4 separate regions of the Homo sapiens genome follow, and regions 1, 3 and 4 are each linked to region 2. Evidence: promoter capture Hi-C in human tissues and cell types (Jung and others, 2019). All regions are on one chromosome and are shown on one strand. Each heading gives the region's core, a stretch centred on a gene start or on the middle of the fragment in contact. The rest is flanking DNA. Distances are from core to core; before and after follow the strand shown. Region 1 overlaps TTI1 (TELO2 interacting protein 1). Region 2 holds the start of NNAT (neuronatin). Region 3 overlaps MROH8 (maestro heat like repeat family member 8). Region 4 holds the start of RBL1 (RB transcriptional corepressor like 1).

Evidence for each region. The method cuts DNA at HindIII sites, captures the fragments that hold promoters and counts their contacts. A contact is called where the count stands out against the background at its distance.
Region 1: a contact is called between a fragment that was not itself captured here and the fragment with the promoter of NNAT in region 2, in 1 of the 25 tissues and cell types used here (dorsolateral prefrontal cortex).
Region 3: a fragment that was not itself captured here is called in contact with the fragment with the promoter of NNAT in region 2 in 5 of the 25 tissues and cell types used here (H1 embryonic stem cells, bladder, dorsolateral prefrontal cortex and 2 more).
Region 4: the fragment with the promoter of RBL1 here is called in contact with the fragment with the promoter of NNAT in region 2 in 1 of the 25 tissues and cell types used here (lymphoblastoid cells).

What each region holds. Positions count from the first base shown.
Region 1 is chr20:38,007,420-38,010,401 of GRCh38, reverse strand. The region is part of intron 2 of TTI1 (TELO2 interacting protein 1); the gene reads left to right. Among named protein-coding and RNA genes, the nearest start is that of TTI1, 25 kb to the left of the region's middle. The HindIII fragment of the contact is 4,274 bases long and covers 1-2,982 here.
Region 2 is chr20:37,519,626-37,522,878 of GRCh38, reverse strand. It overlaps NNAT (neuronatin), which reads right to left and starts at 1,629. Exons shown (of 3, transcript NM_005386.4): 1 at 1,476-1,629; 2 at 441-521; 3 at 1-212. The coding sequence starts at 1,547. The coding sequence ends at 120. The region is part of intron 1 of BLCAP (BLCAP apoptosis inducing factor); the gene reads left to right. RefSeq lists an enhancer at 2,557-3,253. The HindIII fragment of the contact is 18,819 bases long and covers 1-2,499 here.
Region 3 is chr20:37,142,411-37,145,465 of GRCh38, reverse strand. MROH8 (maestro heat like repeat family member 8) reads left to right here. Exons shown (of 25, transcript NM_152503.8): 11 at 1,625-1,749. Among named protein-coding and RNA genes, the nearest start is that of RPN2, 35 kb to the left of the region's middle. The HindIII fragment of the contact is 5,272 bases long and covers 1-3,055 here.
Region 4 is chr20:37,094,431-37,097,415 of GRCh38, reverse strand. RBL1 (RB transcriptional corepressor like 1) reads left to right here and starts at 1,419. Exons shown (of 22, transcript NM_002895.5): 1 at 1,419-1,643. The coding sequence starts at 1,488. RefSeq lists enhancers at 961-1,010, 1,131-1,400, 1,051-1,727, 1,961-2,060 and a silencer at 1,631-1,690. The HindIII fragment of the contact is 15,633 bases long and covers 1-2,985 here.

The DNA of each region.
Region 1 (2,982 bases), core at 195-2,694, 490 kb before region 2:
AATGAGAAAATAATAAGCTGTATAGCTTGGGTCCCTTTTATTTAAAGAGCATATTTCCAGTATTTATCTCAGTACTGCTAATAGCCTCTGAGAAGGTGGAATGGTCACTGGCCTCATTTTGTCAGTTGAAAAAGCCAAGACCTTGTAAGAAACATTCTCATGGAAGGTAACTGGGGCAGGGACAGTGCACTGCCCTGTAGCTAATGCCATTTCCAGTGTTTGTTTATTCATGCATGAGCATTCACGTTCAGCATAAATGTTCCTTTTTCATTCATTCATTCAAGAGTGCCTGCCATATGTCAGACACTGTGCTAAGTAATGAAGATAGAGCAGAGAAAAAGACGAATAAACTCATGGAACTTCCCTGCCACTGCAAGAGAGATGATAAACAAGTAAACAAATCATTAGACAAGCTCACGGCAGATTCTGATAAACACCGTGAAGGAAATAAACACCTCAGTGTAACAGACACAGGCTCCTATAAGTTCAGTGGTCAGGGAGGGCCTCTCTGAGGAAGCAACACTAAAGCCAAAACCTGAAGGATGAGAAAGGCCCATCAACACATAGGGGGCTATCACATTTATTTTTAAGAACATTCAGGCCGGGTGCCGTGGCTCACACCTGTAATCTCAACACTTTGGGAGGCTGAGGTGGGCGGATTGCTTGAGCCCAGGAGTTCAAGACCAGCCTGGGCAACCTAGTATGGCCTCGTCTCTACTAAAAATGGAAAAAAATTAGTTGGGAGTGGCGGTACATGCCTGTAATTCCAGCTACTTGGGAGGTAGAAGCATCACCTAAGCCCAGGGAGGTCAGGGCTGCAGTGAGCCATGATTGCACCACTGCACTCCAGCCTGGGTGACAGAGGAAGACTGTCTCAAAAAAAAAAATAAATAAATAAAAATTCAGGTGGGAAGGCCCAGAAGGAAGAAGGGGCATGGGTCTTTGGAGAATGGAAAAGAGGCCTTTGTAGAGAGTGTTGCAAGATGAAGTTGGAAAGAAGGGCAAGGACAAATCCTGGTAGGGCCTTGAGGAGCAAGAGAAGGAGTTTGGATTTTATTTTGCAGCTACTTGGAAGCCTGTGTAGTGGGCTAGTCACTGGGGAGTCAGCCATGAATAAGACCCACTTAGGCCTGCCCTCGTGGAGCCCCTCATAGGACTGACTGGTTGCTTATGCAGACTAAGACTGGCTTCCATGGGCCAAATATATCCCACCTGTACTGCTTTAGCGACCTATGCTATGTTTCAATTTGAAATTTTTAAAATGTAGGTTAAGAAAAGCCCTGTGAAATATATCTCTCAAGAGGTATCTGAATTTGGGCCTTCAAAATTGAATTGTCTTAGATTGCTGATGTCTTCGGTCATCTCTGAAGGAGGAGTGTCAAGACTCCTGTGTAGCTTTGTAGTGCTTTTAAAAAAAAAAAAATGAGGTGGAGGGAGAGGGTCTCCCTTGCAGAAAGGAAAATTGAATGGTTAAGACTGACTCTGGGGCTTCCTTGGAACAGAAGCAAACTTAGAGCTAGCTTTTATGAAAGTTTTGAAATAACCCAGAATACACTCACTTTTTGAACAGGAAGTAGTACTCAGGTGGAGTTGGTATAGTCACTCATAAATCAGAGTAGTACCTTTTGCTGTCATTTCTGTTTGTCATAGAATTATCTAACTGACGTCCACTCTTTTAAGATGGGTGTGGAAATGTGTTCTCAGAGAACTTCTGAAAGGCCTTAGAAGAACCCAGTAAGAGCTTTAGGAAATTGAGTTATCATTAACATAGTGTGTCACATGCAGTGACTAAAAAAGCATTAGGTGCCACGGTAAGGGCAAGAAGCATCAGTTAATTACTGCTTAATCCCAACTGCTGGTTAGCTGATTATTCATAACAAGAAAAAAATAGGGTAGCTTTGAAAATAAGTATTTATGTCACATACTTCACAACTTGGAGAATGTGCTGCTGCATTCTTTTTATGGCTGCATAGTATTCCATCACGCGTCTGCACCATAGTGTATTTAACCAGTCCTTTCTTGGTAGACATTTTGGTCATTTCCAGTCTTTGGCCACCACAAAAAATGCTGCATTGAATATCTTTGTAGGTCATTTTGGACATGTCTCAGTATATTAATAGGATGAATTTCTGAAAAAAATGCTGGTTTAAAGGGTATTACGTTTAAATTTTTGAGAGAGTATCAAATTGCTCTCTAAGAGGTTGTACCAATTTAAACTCCATCAGCAATGTACGAGAGTGCCAGTTTTGCCACGCCATCACCCACACTGTGTATTACCAAGCTTTTGATCTTTGCTAATCCAATAGGAGAAAAATAGCACCTTATTATAGTTTTAATTTGCATTAAACGTGAGATTGAGCTTCTTTTCATATGTTTAAAAGCCATTTGTGAGCAAAGACATTTTAATGTCTGTCACCAGCCTTGAATCTAGAAATAATCTTTGCAGCATATCTAGTCTTAGCAGTGTAAATGCTGGGTCCAGGTTTTAACTATTTGGGAACCAGTGCCTTAGAGTGCACTAAGTAGCTGATAGACAACTGGGGATGCAGTTTGAAGAATGTCATAATGGATCCCTGGGTGTAGGAACCTCCGGCTCACACCTCACACATTTGCTCTCTGATACTGCCAGTTGCCTGGCCCTGTCATCTCCCATCTGCTGCTGCTCTTGCTCTGTGCAGATGCTCTTTGATGAAAAGGAGATTAGCAGGTGCTAAAGGTTATCAGAGTTTTTTTCCCAGCTGTCTGCAAAAGGAGGGCACTGGACCAGAGCAGTGATTTTCAGGCTGTGGGATTTGTTGTTGTTGTTGTTTTATTCTTTAAGTATTAAGAGCCTTTTTTGAAATGAAGCCTTTGGGGAACCCTGATATACAAAAATAATTGAAATTAGAGCTGAGTTGTTTGAAGGAATAGAGACCCTGGAACCCATGCCTGTAGCCCACCGTCTCTTGGTGCCCTCCCTGTTGTGATCCATGAGACATTTCT
Region 2 (3,253 bases), core at 380-2,879:
GCTCCTCTGGCGAGGGAACACAGGGGACCCCACATTCCTGCGCGGCACTGGCTCCCGTGCTGGCCGAGATGCACAGGAGCACCTGATGATACGGCCGCCCAGGGCTGGGAGCTGGGGCCTCAGTTGGGGGCTCGCTGCCTGCGCTCCCCCAACACCTGCCGCCCGGTCCGCGACACCGTGTATGCCAGCTTCTGCAGGGAGTACCTGAACACCTGCGACGAGAAACCCAGGACCCACCCTTAGTGGAGAGCACCCACAGCATGTCTGTGGTGCTGCCGTGCCCACCCCCGCCCCACCCCCTGCCCCGCCCGCCCATCCAGCGTAGGCTGGAGAGGCGGGCGCGGGCGCAGCTTGTCCACGAGTCAGGGCAGCTGGAGCTTTTCCAACTGTGCTGAGAGCTGCATGGCGGCAAGCTGATTGGACCCACAACTTAGGTATACCTCACTTCTCGCAATGGGCTGTGTCCCTGGAGGATTTCGAAAAGCGAATCCTACCCAGTAAATGCAGCATTCCAGGAACACCTTGAAGGAAATATGCGATTCCTTTGGCAAAGGATTCCTTTAGCAGGGAATTCTTCCTGCAAAGGGAGCTTTTAGGGTAAATGATTTTATGGGCAAAGCGCTTTCTTCTGATTTATCTCTTTTTACACCAAGCGCTTTTGCCTCTTTTTTATTTTTTTTATTATTATTTTTTTTTTTGTAAAGCAATTGTCCTTTTTTGGAAGTGCTTTTTTTCCCCTTCTATTTTTCTCTCGAGGGGCTTTTTCCTCTAATTTTTTTCTTTAAAGCGTTTTTGCCCGATCCATTTTTTTCCGTTAGCTCCCTTGTCTAATTTTTTTCTGCAGTGCGTTTTTAATCTAATGCATTTTTTTCTGCCAAGTGCTTTTCTCCGATTTATTTTTCCTGCAATGCGCGTTTTTCTGTTTTCCTGTGAACTACTTTTTCTCTAATTCGTTGTAGGGTTTTTTTTTTTTGCGAAGTAATTTTTATTTTTTCTGAGAAGTGCCTTTTTCTAACTTATTTTTTGTTCCACCCCCGCAAGCGCTATATGTTTTTTTAAATAAAATTTCTCCGCAATGCGCAATTTTTTAAGGTGGAAAATTTTCACTCTGCGAGCTGTAAAGTCTTTCAACACAGTAGTGCCCCGCCTCCCTCCTGGGGTCGAGTCCGGGTGTAGCGGGTTTTTCTTACCGCGTAGGTCGCTAAATGCCTGGGTGATCGTCCGCAGCGGTCGCCCGCCGCGCCCCGAGTCTTTGTTCCCTGGCAGGCGCGGGCGCACTAGGGAGGGTCAGCGCGAGGAGGACGGCGCAGGGAATGGGCAGGGGGCGCGCGGTGCCGGCAGCGGCACTTGGGCAGGCAAGGATCGCGGCAATCGGAATAGGACGGGTCCGGGAAGCGGCAATCGCGACGCAGTCTTGCGGGTTCTAGGGGCGCGAGTTGGGAACCCTCTCCCACCCGAAACCCCGTCAGACTTACCTGCAGCAGCACGCGGAAGATGTACCAGCCGATGATGAGCAGTTCAGCCGAGGCCGCCGCCACTGCCGCCATGGTTCCAAGAATGGTAGGTGGGTGGTCGAGAAAGAGGGTTTGCCGAGATCCGCTGGTCTCGGAGTCCGCTGTTGGGCGCACTGCCGCAGCCGCGGTGGCCGCGCCTTAAGTACCCGCCCGCCACCTAAGTGCGCATGCGCGCCTTGGGGGGTGTTTATGAGGAGGGGTGGCTGGGGGCGCTCCTCATTCGCCAGGAGAGGAAAAAAATAATCCATCTGCTCTTTCCATACCGACCCCCGCCTCCTGAGTTCCATCTTAGCCCCCTTCCAGAAGATTCCGCCGTGCTTGCTTTTGGATTTTGCTTTAAAATGGAGGGGTACCACGACTCTGGGTAGAGTACAGGGCGAGAATGGGGGTGCAGGTCTCTTAGTGTGGCGCCCTTCTCCCCAGTCCCTGGCCTGCAAATTTGAGCTCAGTCTCCGGTGCCACTCCAAAGCCTACCTTGGGGATGGATGGAAAACCGAAATTAGGGAGGGGTCATCTGCCCCATAGAGCAAAAAACGTGGTGCCCCTTTCAGAAGCTTTGGCATAATAGGCCCGTGCTCGGCGCTCTTTTCCTGATACTGAATGAGTTTTAAGCCCAGGTCCTCTGCTTCATGAGGGTGCCTGAGCGCGTAACCCGTCTGATTCTTTACATCTCTCTTACGGTAGCGAGGAGATGAGAATCTGCGGTGGAGGTCGCTACTGTAGGGAGCTGAGCCAGAGCACTGCGCTTTGGGCGCAAAAGCAGTAGTCACCCGGTATCTGTAGGAGGGATACAGGAAGGATTGGCGCCCTTCGTATGCACGGAAGGAATGAGCTCTACGGAGAAGTGGTTGGAATATGCTTGGGGATAGTTTTCTGCTGGACAGGTCGTTTCGACCTCAGTCTTCCGCTCCCCTCCCCCAAGCCCTGGTAGGTCGGCCTTAGCCAGTGGGGTTCTTTGTACCCGTTGCGCTGTGCGGCTGGATCACCGAACGGGGTTACGCTACCGCTACCGGAGGGTTGTGGCTACCGCAGCCCCGTTTCCAAGTGAGGCGGGTCCCTTTTAGACCGCCAGTCTTGTGGGTCCCTCGCACAGCGCGGATTTTCGGGCGGGAAGACCGGAATGCGGTTTGTGAGTGTGGTCCCCGCGCACCGGTAGCCAGCCGAAAGCACCTCTTTCCAGCAAGCTGCCTGGCCCAGGGACCAACTGGCATTTGCCCCTATGTGGATAGAAAATTAATTTTCATTAAAAGCTCCCAGAGGTCAGGTTCTATACAGTGCCAGCAGCAGATGGAGGTGTAATGATCCAAACGAGTTCAGTTTGGACAAAGTAGCATAGTGACTTTTTTTCTACATTGACTTTCGGAGAAGTTGGCAGATTCTGGCAAAGTGACGCTGGGCTGTTTGAAAAAGGCAAGCTTAGCCTAGGCTGCCATCTTAAAATATTTCGAGGCTGTAGCTGCCTCAGGATCCTTTGCCTGTGGTCTGGTGGCCGGCAGTGCCCCGCTAACAGCTTTAACTCTGCACTTAGTGCCTGAGCACCTATGGCTGTGAGAGATGCTAGATACAGAACCCTGTCCTTACCACGTGGGGGCACAGCAGGGAGCCCTTGGTCGTCCTTTGGCAACCACTGGGCGGTATTGTGAGGTCTGGGCCCCTTGAGGACGGGCTGCAGCCCCAGGAGGCGATACATGATCTCTGCTGGGCAGGGCCCAGGCAAAGCCAGCCCACTGTGTGAAACC
Region 3 (3,055 bases), core at 523-3,022, 380 kb after region 2:
AACCCCATCTCTACTAAAAATACAAAAATTAGCCTGGCGTGATGGCGCGTGCCTATAGTCCCAGCTACCCAGGAGGCTGAGGCAGGAGAATCGCTTAAACGTGAGAGGTGGAGGTTGCAGTGAGCTGAGATCACGCCACTGCACTCCAGCCTGGGTGACAGAGTGAGAGACTCTGTCTTAAAAAAAAAAAAAGAAGGTACTCTCTATGTGATGTTCATGCAGTGACGCAATAGCCTAACAGTGCATTTCTCAAAACATATCCCTGTTGTTAAGCTACACACAACCGTAGTTCCTCTGCCTCAGTCTGCGCTTCACATGGATGAGGAAGCTCCATGCTTCCCAAAGCAACTGTCCTGTCATTGGGCACAGTATGAGCAATCTCTACCAGGTATACAGCCAAAGAAATACGTTGATTATTGATTCAGCAAATAGTTATGAAGCATTTATTGTTCTAGTGATGCATCAGTAATCAAGACAAACAAGATACCTTCCCCCAGGGAACTTATTTTCTAGTTGGAGAGAAAGTATCCTCAGCCAAGGGCTCAAAGATAAATTTTCCATCTACGAATTTCCAGCAAATATTAGGTCACAATGAAACATGAGAAAAACAAGACACTACAAGGAGCATTGGCATACTTGACACATGATGAAGAGTTCTGATATCAGAATTATCATACACAGTATAGAGTTGGGCAATTTTTTCTGGGAACCTAAGCTTCATAGGGAGACCCCTCACAGTTCCTCACCAGTGGGGAAATAAGGTAGCATGCTTTGGTTGTACTCACAAATCACTCAAATGCTCTGGTCTTACAAAAAGCTCTTTGCTTTTGCTTTTTTCTTCTTCTTCTTCTTTTTAAAGACAGGGTTGGCTGGGCATGGTGGCTCATGCCTGTAATCCCAGCACTGGGGGAGGCTGAGGTGGGTGGATCACCTGAGGTCAGGAGTTCGAGGCCAGTCTGAACCAAAATGGAGAAACCCCATCTCTACTAAAAATACAAAATTAGCTGGGCATGGTGGCGCATGCCTGTAATCCCAGCTACTCAGGAGGCTGAGGCAGGAGAATCACCTCCAGGAGGCAGAGGTTGCGGTGAGCTGAGATCGCGCCATTGCACTCCAGCCTGGGTGATAAGAGTGAAACTCTGCCTCAAAAAAAAAATTTAAAAAAGAAAAGACAGGGTCTTAACTCTGTCACCCAGGCTGGAGTGCAGTGGCGTGATCTCGGTTCACTGCAAGCTCCACCTCTTGGGTTCAAGTGATCCTCCCACCTCAGCCTCCCAAGTAGTTGGGACTACAGGAGTGCGCCACCATGCTTGGCTAATTTTTTTATTTTTCGGTATCGCCATGTTGGCCAGGTTTGTCTCGAAATCTTGACTTCAAGTGATCCATCTGCCTCGACCTCCTCTTTGTTTTTTCTTTTGGTTCTTTTTATGTATTGTTCTAGAAGGAAAGAGAAATAAATCAGCCTTCAGATGAACAAACACTCCCTCCCCCAGGCATTTTTGTTCAAGTGAAAAAGAAGAGTGAGATCTTGGAATCCACTTTAAACTGAAGATCAACCAGACCTGTAAAATCAAGAAGAAAAAAAGAAGCCAGAAAGTATTAATATTTTATATTTTCTTTTCAGATATCACTCATGACAAGAAAGATCAGCAAAACTTGAAAAGAGCATTGACAAAATGTCGAGAATTCCTGGAGCTCCACAGCTCTGCCGCTAAATGCTTCTACAACTGTCCCTTCAGAATTGCCCAGGTAATAAGAATGGCTAAAATTATAACCACAGCCAGAAGTGTTGGCAAGGATGGGGAACAACCAGAAGTCTCCTGCCATTTATTCATGGAAACGTAAAACAGTAAAAACCACTTTGGAAAAAGTTCTGGTAGTTTCTTATAAAACAAAACCATACACAATTGCCCAGGAAACGTGGTCTCTAAACGTTCCGTAGTTTGGAGACAAGGCACCATGTTCCTGGCCCATATATGCCTTGCCTTCTTAGTTTGGGGGTTAAGGTCAACCTGCCATTGAGGCCAGTATCCCTGGACTTCACTTCATACCAGCTCTGCTCCTACTATTCATAATTGCGAGTCTCTTGCAAATGTAAATGCTGGTCACAAAAAGGAGCTGCAAGAGAGTATGGTTGATCCAACAAGCCAGACTTTTTAAATTAATGTAGTTATTCATTATTCAATAAATACTTATACATCTGCCAGGTACCAGGTATGCTAGGGAATAGGGGAAAATAAAGAAAACCCACAGATCTTACTCATGTAGGGTGAAAGGTACCAAGTAATTTCATCTCTCTGCACATCAGTTTTCTCATCTGTGCGATGGAGATCTGTAAAAATTGGGACAGTTTTTACAATTTCTTTTTTACAATTTATACTGTTTACAATTCAGTCGTTGTTAAAGGAGATACCGTATGGAAAATGCTTTGCTAAATGCTTGTCACATAGTAAGTGCCCAGTAGATTGTACCTATTATAATCATGTGAAGGACTTTACTACCAAATGCAATGAGAAACAGAATGACACATTCTTTTAGTATGTTGTCTCCTGACAAGGCATTTTAATTATGCCTGGGAACCTGTCAGCTGTGTAACATTAGGGCCTTTTTTTAAGTCCTATCGTATAAAAGTATGACTCTTTCTGAAGATCTCATAATAAAGCTTCTTTCTTTTTCTTTTCTTTCCTTTTCTTTTTGTTTTGTTTTGTTTTGTTTTGTTTTGTTTTGTTTGGGGGGGCTGTTTCTTTGAGACAGAGTTTCGCTCTTGTTGCCCAGGCTGGAATGCAATGGCGCAATCTTGGCTCACTGCAACCTCCGCCTCCTGGGTTCAAGCAATTCTCCTGCCTCAGCCTCTTGAGTAGCTGGGATTATAGGCATGTGCCACTACACCCGGCTAATTTTGTATTTTTAGTAGAGATGGGGTTTCTCCATGTTGGTCAGGCTGATTTTGAACTCTGACCTCAGGTGATCCACCTGCCTTGGCCTCCCAACCAAAGTGGTGGGATTATAGACATGAGCCACATGCCAGGCTTCTTTTTTTTTTTTTTTTTTTTTT
Region 4 (2,985 bases), core at 170-2,669, 430 kb after region 2:
ACTACAGCCTCTGCCTCCTCGGTTCAAGCGATTCTTTATTCTCATGTCTCAGTTGCCCAGGTTGTTAGGATTACACAAGTGCACCCACACGCCCAGCTAATTTTTATATTTTTAGTAGTGACGGGGTTTTGCCTTGTTGGCCTGACTGGTCTCAAACTCCTGGACTCAAGTGATCCACCTGCCTCGGCCTCCCAAAGTACTGGGATTACAGGCAAAGCAAATAATGGAACAACAAAAGAACGAAGACAGGGATTTATTGAAAACAAAAGTACACTCCATAGTGGGGAAGCGAACCCACGCAGCAGCTCAAGGGCCCAGACACAGAATCTTCTGGGGTCCAAATACCCTCTAGAAGTTTCCCATTGGCCACTTTATGCTCTCTTGATGTAACTGAAGTGGTAGCCCACAATCAGTCTGAGTGGTTGCAGAAAGCAACCAATCAGAGGCCAGGGTGAAGTTAACAAAATTATACTTCTATGCAAAGGAAGACTCTCCCGCCATCAGTCTGATTGGTTGTGGACAGCAACCGTTCAGAGGCTGGAGTGAAGTTACAAAGTTGCAAACAAAGACTGGAAGGCGCTCAGTGTGATTTGTTGCAGACAGCCAATTTCCCATCTGCCATGCAGAAAAGGTCCAAGGGAACAGCCTCTGGTTCTTTTGTTACTTAGGCGTGGAAAGTTGGGGTTTTCCTTTCAATTTAGTTCTAAGAAGTCACGTGAAACAGCCATAGGTTCCCTGCCTCCAGACCCTATTCTCCTGCCTCATTTACTGCAGTCTTCTCTGCCTGCCTCTTTTAGCGACTAGCATGAGATGAGGATTCGTCTTCTAATATCCGTCACCAATCCTTCCCCTCTGTCATTTAGCGAACCACTCACTGGGCACTAGGACTTTGGGGAGAGTCCCAAGAGGCCCCTCTTCGTCCAGGGGCTACTTTTTTCTCTTCCAGCCTCCATCTCCTAACTCAAGGGGTACAGCTCAGATTATGTTTGGCGCCCAGGGACAGTGACAAACCCAGGGCCCGTGGATAGAGGAGGCATCTCACTACGCTGCACGAGGCCACCTCGCAGTAGGCAGCCCAGCCCTGCCCCAAAACCCAAGAGCCTAACCAGGAAGACAGGGGGAGGCCGCGGGCTTCATCTCCCAAGAGATGGACTACACCTCCCAGCAGGCTCTGCGCGCGGGCTGAGGATCCCTCCGCTCTTTTTCTGTCCCGCCGGCTGGGCCCCCCGCGACCAGCCAAGGGCCAAGGACAGGTCTTTCAGAATCTGAGGTACATCTTCTTATCACATTTCCGGGGAGGGACTGCTAGGAGCTCCGGAGGAAAAACGGACTTTTTTTGAGGAGAAAAGCGGAGGCAGACGGTGGATGACAACACGTCCCGCAGCTGCAGATTTTCGCGCGCTTTGGCGCAGGTGGTTGTGGGTAGCGCGCCTGGGAGGGAGAAAGAAGTCGGGGGCCGTGGCGCGCAGCCCGCGGGGCCTGAAGGGATGTTCGAGGACAAGCCCCACGCTGAGGGGGCGGCGGTGGTCGCCGCAGCCGGGGAGGCGCTACAGGCCCTGTGCCAGGAGCTGAACCTGGACGAGGGGAGCGCGGCCGAAGCCCTGGACGACTTTACTGCCATCCGAGGCAACTACAGCCTAGAGGTGAGCGGCAGCAGGTGGGGCGGCCGGACCCTACCCTCGCCAGGCCCCACCCCTGCCCCGCCCCTTCCTCGGCCTATGGGGTGGTGGGAGTTTCCCCACCTAGGAGGGTCGCTGCGCAGCCAAGCGCCGAGGGGCGGGAAAGGTGGGTGTAGCTCAGCCAATCCACCCATCATTTTGAGGCGGGAAACTGAAGCTCAGGAAAGGAGCGGCCTAGGTCCCGCGCCGCTCAGACCCCAGGCTTCCTGACCACACTTCCCTCTACCCCGCCAAGCGCCACAAAAGTCATGGTGCTGCCCTTAAATCAGTAAGAACAAATATAATGGTAAAGTGAAAATGAACTGCATGCCAAGACATCACTGCCCAGAGCTTTAAATGGACCCTCAGTTCCGTCTGAACCCCTTCTGTGATCCCCATTTCACGCAAGAGGAAGCGGAGCCCTAGACGGGTTAAGCTACAGGCCCAAGGTCACACGGTTAGAGATGGAGCCAGACCCAGGGTCTGAGCCGTTTAACCTCCACCCTCTGCTTCACCAGGGTGGAGCTGCCGGTCGCTGTGCAGCAGTTTGATCAAAGCCAATGTGCACACGAAGCTGATCTCAGCCCTACGTTTCCTCCTCCGTCAGAGCATCGTCCTGATGCTTTGCATCAGTGTCTGGCTCTGAATAAAACAAATGTCAGTTATAATTACTTGATTTTTTTCCCCATCATTCTTGCATTTTATCCTCGCAACAGCCCTGTGAACATGGCATGGCAATGAGTATTAGACTGCTTTCCAGGTGATAATGGCAAGGCTCAGAAGGTTGTCTTGCCTAGGATTATTCTAATATAGAAACCCAGGCTGGGCGTGGCGGCTCACGCCTATAATCCCAGCACTTTGGGAGGCCAAGGCGGGCGGATCACTTGAGGCCAGGAGTTCGAGACTAACCTGGGCAACACGGCGAAACCCCATCTCTACTAAAAAAATACAAAAACTAGCTGGGTGTGGTGGCGCCTGCCTGTAATCTAGCTACTCGGGAGGCTGAGGCAGGAGAATTGCTTAAACCCAGGAGGCATAGGCCGCAGTGAGTGGAGATCACACCACTGCACTCCAGCCTGGGTGACAGCAAGACTCTATCTAAAAACAGAGAAAGAAACCCAGACGAGCATAAGCCCAGTGTAGACAGAATTGTGATGGAGTGTATTTCATGTAGCACCACTGGCCTCATGTTCAAAGGCTTTCATGTGCCAAGGGCGCTGGACCCACTCCCAGGGTGCACCACTGACTCACCACCCAGTGAAATAATTGCTGGGTTCAAAGGCATAGAGTTGGAAAAGTGTCGATTGTATGTGTGCCTATATATGAA